Regions from separate parts of the Homo sapiens genome. Here region 1 is linked to region 2. The links are contacts of gene promoters, found by promoter capture Hi-C in blood cells and fetal thymus (Javierre and others, 2016). All regions are on one chromosome and are shown on one strand. The core of a region is centred on a gene start or on the middle of the fragment in contact, and the rest is flanking DNA. Distances in the headings are between cores, read along the strand shown. Region 1 has its middle 26 kb from the start of LINC01065. Region 2 holds the start of PCDH8 (protocadherin 8).

Region 1 (6,274 bases), core at 1,539-4,038, 330 kb before region 2:
AGGAGGAAATATAAACAGAGCATGGAGAGAAATACATAAGAAAGGTACTAACACACCAATTCAAACTCTTGTCAGATATCTCTTTAGAGCTCCTGTCAGCAGGAAGCCAATTACTTGAGAAAGAATGAAGTTTGTTTTATGAGCACAATATTACAAATGCAGCCCCTTCATCCTAACATCAAGGAAACATTTTGCATTTCTAATAGAAGCCAGCAGTGTTTTGCAGCTGATGAGGTGGTAGTTTGCCTTGGAGGTTAAAGCTATGGTAGGGATATGGGAGGAATAAATGAGCTCCTTAACTCCCTAAATTTAGCTCTTGTGATTAATCTATGACATTTAATTTGTGTTAACCTGCTATGTTAGACTATGGTCCTCAGAGCACAGCAATTAATGCCATCACATAAGTCTTGACCTCATGGGCTTCTTAAGGTCTCTAGTATGACAAACCTTTAATGTTTTTGGCATTGGAAACTTATGATCTTCATCAGAGGGATGGAAAGAGAAGCAAAGAGCATCACCCTCCATTTCATTACTTACTGGCATGATTACTATTATTTAATAATGTAATATTTTCTACAAAGGAACAACCTTTTGCAAGTTTGCCCACTTAAAAAAAAGTTTTCATTAAAAGACCATCTTTGTCCTTATTCTGCACACAAAAACATCTAGTATCTAGTTTGTCTCATTTTGTTCTATCCCTTTCCTTCACATTCAAGGAAACAGATAGCAGGATTCTTAATTATTATGCACAGTGTGCTTGGTTAAATACTGGTGTGAAGTGCTTCACTGTGCTCCTAAAACTCGGCCAAATTGTATCCACAGAAAAGTAACATTTTACATCAATTAGAAGAGGAAAAGGCCAGGGATCCCAGTCCTTAGGGAGGCCATGGGGTTAGGGGGGGTCGCCTGAGGTCAAGAGTTCAAGACCAGCCTGGCCAATGTGGTGAAACCCCGTCTCTACTAAAAATACAAAAATTAACCAGGCACGACGGTGGGTGTCTATAATCCCAGCCACTAGGGAAGCTGAGGCAGGAGAATCGCTTGAACCTGGGAGGCGGAAGTTGCAGTGAGCCAAGATCACGCCATTGCACTCCAGCCTGGGCGACAGAGGGAGACTCTGTCTCAAAACAAAAGAAGATGAAAGGACTCAGGCCATTTTACAGATCTTTGGGGTGATAGAAATAATCACTTTTACACCTGAGCATAACAGTCAATGTTTTTAATATTATTATTATTATTTGTCCCAGAAAGCTACTCTAAATTGGCCATTTGATCTATAATACACTCAACCACAAAACAAACACTTCAAAAGCCCTACCATGACATTTCTGCACCACAGATACACAATTCCCTGAAATTTTAACAGAAAGAGAATGAAAAAGAAAGAATCTACTTCATTTCGTTGGGCTAGCTACTTGACTCCTACAGTATTCATTTTAGCACAATATTCGTCATCTTCTAAAACCTAAATAAGTTCTCATTTCTATTGTGATTTCTTCTTTGACCCATGGTTTATTTAGAAGTATATTGCTTAATTTCCAAACACCTAGGGATTTTCTAGTTACCTTTTTTATTATTAATTTTCAGCTTAATTTTACTGTGATCAAAGAACATGCCCTGTATAAATTTAATGTGTGGAAATTCACTGGGACTTGTCTTAGGTTCCACTGCAGTTGTTGGATGTAGTGTTTTATGTATGTCAATTGAGTTAGTATGTTGGATATGTTGTTAAATTATTCTATATCCTTAATAATTTTTTTCTCTGCTTATTCAGTCAGTCATTGAAAGAGGTATATTAGAATTATCTAAAACTATCGTGAATTTATCTTATTCTCTTTTTTTGTTCTGTCAGTTTTACTTAATAAATTTTGAGGCTTGTTATTACATCCACGTAATATTGTCATGTCAGTATTACTCCCTGGCAAATTAACCACTTTATTGTTCTGAAATATTCGTCTACTAATTTTTCTCACCTTAATATCTATTAATATCTCAATATTTATTAATATCTTAATGTCTATTGCCTTAATATTTATTTGGTCTGCTATGAATTTAGCAAAAAAGCTTTGTTTTGATTAATGTGAGCAAGAAATACCTTTGTCATCCTTTTACTGTCAACCTTTTTGCCTTTTCACTTTTGAAGTTGTTTAATATAAGCAAAATAAAGTTTTCTAATCTAGTTTATACTTGTCTTTCAACTGGAATATTTAGTCTTTTCATTTAATCCATTTACTGATGTATATGGGTCTAAATCTACCATCATGCTGTACATTGTCTATTTTCCCCCAACATGTCCCGTGTTTCCTTTGCTCTCATTGTTGCCTTATTTTTTTCATTAAATATTTTGCATTATTCCATTTCCCCTTTTATTATCTTGTTTGTTATACTCTTACTATTCTTTTAGGGTTTACCCTAGAATAAAACATGCATTATTGACCTTTCCCATGTCATAATGAAAAGACCTGAGGATAATTCCATTCCATTCCATTGATCTGTTCTCCAGCCTTTTCTGTTTTTCTCATGTGTCTATCCCATAGATATGTAAACCCCACAAAACATTATCATTGTCATCATCATTATCATATACTTTCACTATTTATCTAGACTTACCCATATATTTATTTTTTGCATTGCTTTTCATTTTCTCCCTGTTTCTGGCTGGATCTGTCTCAAGAACTTGCTCTAGTATTTACTATCATACAAGTCAGCTGGATAATAAAATTATCTCAGTTTTTGTTGGCCTAAAGTTATTTAGTTTGCTTTATTTTTTAAATGATTTTTTACCGGGATGGAATCCTAGGTTAACAGTTTATTTTCTTCAAAAGTTTAAATAAATAACTTGAAGCAATTTTTTAACTTTGAATAATTTGTTAGCTTCCATTTTTCTTTAGAGTAGTCGCATTAGTTTTATTTTGGCTTCTGTCTGCTTTTAAGATTCTTTTTTCTTTGGTTTGTGGCAATTGTACTATGATATGGCTAGGTATGGTATGTTTTATATGTATCCTAGTAGAGAGTTGTAGTGCTTCTGGACTCTGGGTATCTTTCGTTATTTTTGGAGACTTCTTAGCCATTATCCCTTCAATCATGGCTTCTCTAGCAGAAATTTTATTGACAGGTTCTAAATGTACATACTGTTTGGCCTATCCACCATATTCCATATTTGTCTTATGCTGAGATTTTCTTCTGCTTTATTTTTCAGAGTGCCAATTCTCTCTTTAGCAGGTTTTTGTTGTTGTTGTTGTTGTTGTTGTTGTTGTTTTGGTTTTTTTGTTGTTGTTTTATTTTTGGTCTGCTATTAAACCTATCTAGGGAGTTATTAATGTCAGTTGTTATTTTTCATTTCTAGAATTTCTTTTTGAGTTTTTAAAAAGTTATTCTCTTAAATTCTCCACCTTGCTTTTTATTTTCATCATGTTTATTAAGTTTATGTCAGATAATTTCAATACCTGCATCTCCTCTAAGTCTATTTTTACTGTTTTTTTTTCTCCTGGTTTCCAGAAACATTAAGCTTTCCTCTAATTTCTTCAAACAGACTTTTAGAAAGTACATTTTGTATAGATGGTTTTAGTTCACCATTCTACTAGTGCCCTGGTAACTTTTTATTAAATGCCACACATAAACTTTCGTTTGAGAAGTCGTTTGGAATTCTGGATAACGTCAGCTTCTTCAAGACAGCATTTACTTTTGCTTCTGACAGGGTAAGGAAAGATCATCTTACTCTGACTTGAGAATGAACTGATTTAAATCTGTGCTCAGCTTTGTGTGGCTGGTCTATTACTAGTCCACCCTCACTCCTATGGAGTAGCCGATCCAAAGTCCTAATTAAAACCCTGGAGGGTTTGCCAAGATCTCCGTACTCGAGCGGGCTCTGAATTCCAATTTTTGTCCACTAGCCCATGAGACCACCAGGAGCTCTTTTGCCTTCTTGACCTTTCAGCCATCAATTTCTGCTCAATTTCTCAGCCTCTCTGCTGCTGCTCTGGAATTGGCAAATGCCTTAAAGGGAAAAAGCAGCCCTGAAAATCATTTCCTCTGTGTACTTCTCTTGTCTCCAACACCTTGGCCACTAAAGTTCTAGTTGATTTGGTAGACTTTTTAGAAAATAATATTTTGTTTAGCTGTTTTTAGTTCACGATTGCCAGAAATATACAGCCCCCCAAAATACTTCTAACATTTTTAACATCCTATGCCAGCAGCAGCAGAAATTCGACAATTCCTGTAAAATACTAGATGTCTTAGGTTTACTAAGGCGGCATTCATAGCTTCCTGGGTGAGATGGCTCCTATTTGGCCAAGCACAATTCTCAGCAGCACAGGAAAGCTGTGAGCTATTAGCAGAAACCACTTATAGCAGCTGCCAGACTGCTGTATTAGGTGAAAAGGAGGTCTAGAAGGGCCTCAATGGCATTGAGTACAACAGACAACCTGATCATTTCAGTAACACAGCTGCTATGGGGTATATGTGTCCTCCAAAATTCATATGTTGATATTTAATCCCAATGTGATAGTATTAAGAGGTAAGGCCTTCAGGAGGTGATGGGTGCTCTTAGAAAAAGTGGTATGGGGGAACTATTCCTCCTTTTCTGTCCTTCTGTCATGTGAGGACACAGCATTCAAAGCATCATCCTGGAAACAGAGACAGAGCCCTCGCTAGATACTGAATCTCCCAGTCCCTTGATCTCGGGCCTCCCTGCATCTGAAAATATGATAAATAAATTTCTCTTATTTATAAATTACCCAGTCTGAAGTATTTTGTTATAGTAGCACAAACAGACAAAGATAGCAGCTTTTTAGCTAGGTCTTCCTTATTCCTTTGCCTGTCCCATGGCTAACTTCTTTTTCTTTCTTTTTTTTTTTTCTTTGAGACGGAGTCTTGCTCTTTCACCCAGGCTGGAGTGCAGGGGCATGATCTTGGCTCACTGCAACCTCTGCCTCCCTGGTTCAAGCAATTCTCCCGCTTCAGCCCCTTGAGTAGCTAGGATTACAGGTGCACGCCACCACGCCCAGCTAATTTTCTGTATTTTTAGTAGAGATGGGGTTTCACCATGTTGGCCAGGCTAATCTCAAACTCCTGACCTCAAGTGATCCACCCACCTCGGCCTCCCAAAGTACAGGGATTACAGGAATGAGCCACCAAGCCCGGCCCACTAACTTCTTTTTCTAGCTTCTCAACAAGTAAGATTGAGTAAGTCTGAGAATGGGACCGTGTCTAGAATTTATTCCTTCCAGTGGGTTCTTGGTCTCACTGACTTCAAGAATGAAGCCACGGACCTCGCAGTGAGTGTTACAGCTCTTAAAGGTGGCACATCCAGAGTTGTTTGTTCCTCTCAGTCGGTTCGTGGTCTCACTGACTTCAGGAATTAAGCCGCAGAGCCTCCTGTGAGTGTTACAGCTCATAGAGGTAGTGCGGACCCAGTGAGCAGCAGCAAGATTTATTATGAAGAGTGAAAGAACAAAGCTTCCACAGCGTGGAAGGGGACCACAGCTGGTTGCCACTGTTGGCTGGGGGTGGCCAGCTTTTATTCTCTTATTTGTCCCCACCCACATCCTGCTGATTGGTCCATTTTACAGAGCACTGATTGGTGCTTTTACAATCCTTTAGCTAGACACAGAGTGCTGATTGGTGCATTTTTACAGAGTGCTGATTGGTGCATTTACAACCCTTTAGCTAGACACAGAGTGCTGATTGGTACGTTTACAATCCTCTAGCTAGACAGAAAAGTTCTCCGAGTCCCCACTCAACCCAGGAAGTCCAGCTGGCTTCACCTCTCAATCTTCATTCTTGAAGTCAGCAAGACCAAGAACCCACCAGAAGGAATAAATTCTGGACACAGGACTATGGGGAAAGACCTCAACCCAAAACATACACAAACACATGTGTGCGCGCACACACACACACACACACACACACGCACAGCATCTCCAACACCATTCCCAGACTATGCACCTCACTTCCCTACCCCAGTAGAATATGCCATTCAGCCTGACTATTGAAACCATCTTGTACTGACCATCAGATCTCTTAGGCAGTGGACTTTCAAGATACCTCTAAACTTGTCACCATGTCCAGTTAGCCCATGAGAAAACTTGCACCTCTGCCTCTTCAAAATCTGGATGTACACGACGCTCCCACTGTGGCCTTCTATCATTGGTCTGCCTTTGGGGCTTCTCCACAAGCCTCTTGCTTTTAAGATTTTCCAAGCTACAGCCAGGGCTTGATCTCTAGGTCCAGACTCTAGAGGATGTAGTTTGACTTCTCCCTAGCCTCTCTGCCC
Region 2 (6,875 bases), core at 586-3,085:
GCTTTTAGCATTCCCAAGACTACAAGGTGGAAGAGGTGGAGAAGGGAACCCAGAGACACACCCCTCTGAGGAAGTCTCCAGCCACTCATCATCCCCCTCCCCAGTCTTATAAGAGCTTGTATTTATGGATGGCTGGAGCTGCATGTTCCGCTCTCTGACAATTCCAAGCACCTCTCATCCCTGCCACCCAGCTCCCTGCTTGGTCTCCCTACTCCAAGGAAACTCCTGACCCTCTTCTGAAAAAAAACCCAAAACACACTCCCTCGAGTTTGAGGGAAAGGAAAACATGGATAGGACGCTGACAGCAGGACCAAAATCGGGATTCTGAAGAATGTTTACTGAATTCAATCTACTTACCAAACCTATCGCCTAAAAAGAAAAATTTCTTCCAGTGAGTGGCTTTTGTTTTTTACCTTTCCTCCTTCGTGTGTATTTGCATAGCCTGCTCAATAAAGCCCTTCAGTAAGAATCATTAAGAATCCGTCTTGTTGCAGATCCGAGCTCCATCTCCCTGGCCGTCAGGGATGGGAGGGGGCTATCTGTGGGGCAGCGCAGCGCCCGGCCAGCCCCAGGATCCGCCCAGCCCAGATTTTGGCAGTGCCGAAGCTCCACACTTTCCTAAGCAGATGGTTAAGTTCCCCCCACGTTCCTGCCAGGTTTCAACGTCACGCTGTGATTTTGTTCTTCTGGAACCGGACGAGTGTTGCTTCCCAGAGTGGCCCTATTAGAACAGAAAGAAAATCCTCTAAATAGGCGGAACAAGGCATCAGGAGGAAAAAGTTCTCTAAATGCACTTTAATACGAGCCGGGTATTGTGTGGAATTCAGCGCCCATCACCGTTTAGCCGGAGAGTTATGGCAGTGATTGGGGATGAATAGAGGAACATAATGGATACATGTGGCGTTTGCTCATTATATTCAAGTTAGTCCAACTCCGCTGTGGAAACTGTTCAACTTTCTCTCCCCTTAGCTTGTCACAGTGAAATAATACAGACATTGGGGCCTCCAATGGGATCGCCTGCCACACCATTCTATTTCCACTGCTAACGAGGGCTTCATAAGCCTTTGATACAGTCTGATCTTTGAAACCTTTCCAAATCTCCTCAAGCTTATGCTAAATCCTATTTGGAACTTTTTTTTCCTTGCCTGCTAGCTCCCAGGGCTTAAGAAGGCCACTTGGACAGTGACGTGCATACTAACATATCGCGGGGCTCTTTTCTGAAAGGGAAGTGGCAGCTCTGATCACTGGGGCTCACACGAGCAAAACACAATTGAGTACACAAATTTGAATAAAATCAATTTTCCCTTATCCTTCAGGCTTCTTAATCGAGAGGCTATTCCAGGCACCGTAGCTAGGAGAGAAGGAAAGCAGAGCCTCATTCAGCAGAGCAAGTCTGTGGGTAGGGGGCTGCAAGGGTTTGGAAGCGTCAGAGGTGCAAAATGCAGAGTGTGTGTGTTGGCAGGGGCTGGGGGAAGGCGGAATCAGGAGCCACTGGGGTGAAACCCCAGCGTGTTCGCACTTAGTTCTAGCCGCGGCACGGAGGGAGGCAGGCGACAATTAACAAAACCATCCGCTCCTTTTACTCCTGGAGCCCTGTGCCAACTCCTCTACATGCAGGGTGCTGACAAGAAAAGGGGGAAAAAGCAAAAGGAGTTAAACAAAAGAAAGATTCCCTAATTTTCCTTTCTTGTTTTCCCCTCTAAGCCTTTCCACATTAAAGGGATTGTCAGAGGCAGGCGGAGGGGCGACGCGAGGGGGAGGCGGCCATTGGCTACCCGGCTCGGGTGATTAGCATATCGGCGGCTATAAAGGCAAAGGCGGCGCGAGGCGGCGCAGCTTCTGTAAGAGACGGAGAGGCGCAGAGTGAGGGCGGGTCCGCGCGTCCTCAGAGCCCGCTGGAGGCTCGGAGCTGCTACCCGCAGACTTCTCCCGCACAGGGCTCGCAAAGAGCGTGATTCCGAGAGCCTGAGACTGACGCCCGACCTGGAAACCAGAGAAGACTTCCTTAGCCTTTCGGATCGCACTTGAGGCTGGAGGCATGAGTCCTGTGAGGCGTTGGGGCAGCCCCTGCCTTTTCCCCTTGCAGCTCTTCAGCCTCTGCTGGGTGCTCTCAGTGGCCCAGAGCAAAACAGTCCGATACAGCACCTTCGAGGAGGATGCCCCCGGCACGGTCATCGGGACCCTGGCCGAGGACCTGCATATGAAAGTATCGGGTGACACAAGCTTCCGCCTGATGAAGCAATTCAACAGCTCTCTGCTCCGGGTGCGCGAAGGCGACGGGCAGCTGACCGTCGGGGACGCCGGCCTGGACCGCGAGCGGCTGTGTGGCCAGGCCCCGCAGTGCGTGCTGGCCTTCGATGTGGTCAGCTTCTCGCAGGAGCAGTTCCGGCTGGTGCACGTGGAGGTAGAGGTGAGGGACGTCAACGACCACGCGCCGCGCTTCCCCAGGGCCCAGATCCCGGTAGAGGTGTCCGAGGGTGCGGCAGTGGGCACGCGCATCCCCTTGGAGGTGCCGGTGGACGAGGACGTGGGCGCCAACGGGCTGCAGACCGTGCGCCTGGCCGAGCCGCACAGCCCCTTTCGCGTGGAGCTGCAGACGCGAGCGGACGGCGCTCAGTGCGCAGACCTGGTGCTGCTGCAGGAGCTGGACCGCGAGAGCCAGGCCGCCTACAGCCTGGAGCTGGTGGCCCAGGACGGCGGCCGCCCGCCGCGCTCCGCCACGGCTGCCCTCAGCGTGCGCGTCCTGGATGCGAATGACCACAGCCCGGCCTTCCCGCAGGGCGCCGTGGCCGAAGTGGAGCTGGCGGAAGACGCGCCCGTGGGCTCCCTGCTTCTCGACCTGGACGCAGCCGACCCCGACGAGGGACCTAACGGCGACGTGGTGTTCGCATTTGGCGCCCGCACCCCGCCGGAGGCGCGCCGCCTCTTTCGGCTTGACCCGCGATCAGGCCGCCTCACCCTGGCCGGGCCCGTGGACTACGAGCGTCAGGACACCTACGAGCTGGACGTGCGGGCGCAGGACCGCGGACCCGGGCCCCGCGCTGCCACCTGCAAGGTCATCGTGCGCATCCGAGACGTCAATGACAACGCACCCGACATCGCCATCACCCCGCTGGCCGCCCCAGGCGCGCCGGCAACCTCACCCTTCGCCGCTGCCGCCGCCGCCGCTGCACTCGGGGGAGCGGACGCTAGCTCGCCGGCGGGAGCCGGGACGCCGGAGGCTGGTGCCACTTCGCTGGTGCCGGAGGGGGCGGCGCGCGAGAGCCTGGTGGCCCTGGTCAGCACCTCGGACAGGGACTCGGGCGCCAACGGGCAAGTGCGCTGCGCCCTCTATGGGCACGAGCACTTCCGGCTGCAGCCGGCCTACGCGGGCAGCTACCTGGTGGTGACCGCGGCGTCGCTGGACCGCGAACGCATCGCCGAGTACAACTTGACGCTGGTGGCCGAGGATCGCGGCGCGCCCCCGCTGCGCACAGTGCGGCCCTACACGGTGCGTGTGGGCGACGAGAACGACAACGCGCCGCTCTTCACGCGGCCGGTCTATGAGGTGTCGGTGCGCGAGAACAACCCGCCAGGCGCCTACCTGGCCACGGTGGCCGCCCGCGACCGGGACCTGGGCCGCAACGGCCAGGTCACCTACCGGCTGCTGGAGGCCGAGGTGGGCCGCGCCGGGGGCGCCGTGTCCACTTATGTCTCGGTGGACCCAGCTACCGGAGCCATCTACGCGCTGCGCAGCTTCGACTATGAGACGCTGCGCCAACTCGACGTTCGCATCCAAGCTAGCGACGGCGGCTCCCCTCAGCTTTCCAGCAGCGCCCTAGTGCAAGTGCGCGTGCTGGACCAGAACGACCATGCGCCAGTCCTGGTGCACCCGGCGCCAGCCAATGGCTCCCTAGAAGTGGCGGTGCCTGGGCGCACCGCAAAGGACACGGTTGTGGCCCGTGTGCAGGCCCGGGATGCAGACGAGGGAGCCAACGGGGAGCTGGCGTTCGAGCTGCAGCAGCAGGAGCCGCGCGAAGCCTTCGCCATCGGCCGCCGCACGGGGGAGATACTGCTCACCGGCGACCTCTCGCAGGAGCCACCCGGTCGCGTGTTCAGGGCGCTCCTGGTCATATCCGACGGCGGCCGTCCCCCGCTCACCACCACCGCAACTGTCAGCTTCGTGGTAACAGCAGGGGGCGGGCGTGGGCCGGCTGCGCCTGCCAGTGCAGGAAGCCCGGAGCGTTCCCGCCCGCCTGGCTCTCGGCTCGGGGTGTCCGGGTCGGTGCTGCAATGGGACACGCCGCTGATCGTCATCATCGTGCTGGCCGGGAGCTGCACGCTGCTGCTGGCCGCCATCATCGCCATCGCCACCACCTGCAACCGCCGCAAGAAGGAGGTGCGCAAAGGGGGGGCCCTCCGGGAAGAGCGGCCCGGGGCGGCGGGCGGCGGAGCCTCGGCTCCCGGCTCCCCGGAGGAGGCCGCCCGGGGAGCCGGGCCCAGGCCCAACATGTTCGACGTGCTCACCTTCCCTGGCACCGGCAAAGCGCCCTTTGGCAGCCCCGCGGCGGACGCGCCTCCGCCTGCGGTCGCCGCGGCCGAAGTGCCGGGCTCAGAGGGCGGCAGCGCCACTGGGGAAAGCGCCTGTCACTTCGAGGGGCAGCAGCGGCTCCGCGGCGCGCACGCCGAGGTGAGGCCTTCCTTCGGCTGGGCGCCCCCCTCCGAGCTCCGCGGACAGGCTGGGGGAAGGGAGACTGGAGGGGTAGGGTGGGTGCATTCAGGTAGACAACCTGTCGCACTTGTTTTTTGTTTGTTTCTTATCCAACCCTCCCCCCACTCCCATTCCCCTATTCCCTGCTGCAGCCCTACGGTGCCTCCCCGGGTTTTGGAAAGGAGCCGGCGCCCCCTGTGGCGGTGTGGAAAGGACACTCCTTCAACACCATTTCTGGCAGAGAAGCAGAGAAGTTCAGCGGCAAAGACAGCGGTAAAGGGGACAGTGATTTCAACGACAGCGATTCCGACATCAGCGGGGACGCTCTGAAAAAGGATCTCATCAACCACATGCAGAGTGGTGAGGACTCTTCTTTCCCGCCAAATTCGGCATTCCTCCCTTCCCTCCCCTTCACCACTGTTTGCCTCCTCTCAATCTCGGTTCCCAGCCCCCTTCCCTCTTCCCCACTTTTTCTCACTCCTACAGCTGCGGATACGGGCCTGCCTCACACGGTGAATTTCAAAATGCCAAGTCGAGGCAACTCCAGCTCTTGAATAAAACACACCCTCATCCTGTTAGGCAGCAGCATGGGTGATGCTAGCCATTAAAAAGTGGGTTCTGCTTATCAATTTTTTTTTTCACTTCCAGCTGAAGAAGCTGGACCAGCTTTGCATTAAGATGGCTTTACAGGAAGCAATGTGCCTTCGATTCTTGAGACACGGTGTATATCTATGCGCACAGCCTTTCCTTTCAGCTGCCCTGACCCAGGCTGACATGCTGAAGATGGAAGCCTGAATATGTATAATCTCAGGAATAATCGTCATGCTGTTTCCTTTTCCCTTTCGTATTAGGACTGTGGGCGTGCACCGCTGAGTGTAAGATCCTGGGCCACTCTGACCGCTGCTGGAGCCCATCCTGCAGCGGGCCCAACGCACATCCATCGCCTCACCCACCAGCCCAGATGTCAACCTTCTGTAAGAGCACGTCACTGCCTCGGGATCCTCTGCGCAGGGACAATTACTACCAGGCCCAGCTGCCCAAGACAGTGGGGCTGCAGAGCGTCTATGAGAAAGTACTGCACAGAGACTATGACAGGACAGTCACTCTGCTCTCCCCTCCCCGTCCAGGGAGGCTCCCAGACCTGCAGGAGATTGGAGTACCCCTCTACCAGTCCCCTCCTGGCAGGTACCTGTCCCCGAAGAAGGGAGCCAATGAAAATGTGTAATCCCATGCTGCATGTCTTCACACATATACAGGTCACTCCGAGAAGCCCCTAAGTTATTGACCGGTTTCAGTGTTGTATATATAAATATGCAAGATGTGCCTTACAATGAAGTTGTTGGAAGCTATTTCCAATCACATTGGTACTGTTTGGTATTTGCAAACAAAAATGTAGTTAATGTAATTTTTATGAAATGTGTGCAGTATTTAATTTTTCTTATGCTATTGACTTTGATTTCAATTGCGGCTTGCCATTTTCTTAGTGTTTTTAACCTGTACATTGTGTAATGTAATGTTTGTATATAATGAAATTTTGTTATATTTTTATATAATAAAAGCTAAAGTGGAAGTTATTGCCAAAGGAACTGTCTGTAAGACAAAAAACAAAACATGTTGGAATTACTTAATTGAAATTTATCTTTCACCTGAAACAACCTAGTGTTTGAGAAATTTTGCCTTGCCAAGTATAACTTGTATATCTTGACTCTGTGGTAGATTTCAAGTTCAATGTTATTTAATTACATTTGGTTTTCCGTAAACCGTGTCACTTATAAGCACAGTAATAAAAGATTTGTCATGTGTTTGAAGAATCTGCCAATTGCTTTTCATGAAGCTGCCTATAGTCAGACATTCACAAATAATTTGAGTATCAGAATGAAACCTTCTTTCAAGTGCTAATTATTTGGGCATTATTAATGTTCATGACAATATTAAACCTGTAGGATTTCAAGTATTGCAAAATGTCACCCAAGTATTAAAAACGTGTGTTGATTTCATAAATTATGTGCATCTCCATATGTATTAGTCTATAAAATCCCTGCTCTCATTTATTCACTAGGTAAATATTCATTGAGCAGCCACCAAAAAGTGAAGAAAGCTAAGTTTGGGTTGTTCATTCACTAATTAAACAAGCATCTGTAGAACTTTTACTAGCTGCTGGTACCTCCTCCTCAAGCTGGAGTTT

The links. Contacts are between HindIII fragments. The CHiCAGO score rates a contact against its expected background, and 5 or more counts as called.
Region 1: a contact is called between a fragment that was not itself captured here and the fragment with the promoter of PCDH8 in region 2, in 2 of 17 cell types (M2 macrophages and M1 macrophages). The highest score is 5.6, in M2 macrophages.

Annotation. Positions count from the first base shown.
Region 1 is chr13:53,174,770-53,181,043 of GRCh38, reverse strand. No RefSeq gene overlaps it. Among named protein-coding and RNA genes, the nearest start is that of LINC01065, 26 kb to the right of the region's middle. The HindIII fragment of the contact is 1,444 bases long and covers 2,067-3,510 here.
Region 2 is chr13:52,843,600-52,850,474 of GRCh38, reverse strand. PCDH8 (protocadherin 8) reads left to right here and starts at 1,835. Exons shown (of 3, transcript NM_002590.4): 1 at 1,835-4,669; 2 at 4,843-5,050; 3 at 5,542-6,875. The coding sequence starts at 2,039. The coding sequence ends at 5,915. RefSeq lists enhancers at 1-101, 1,447-1,741, 1,872-2,761, 2,762-3,650. The HindIII fragment of the contact is 1,116 bases long and covers 1,110-2,225 here.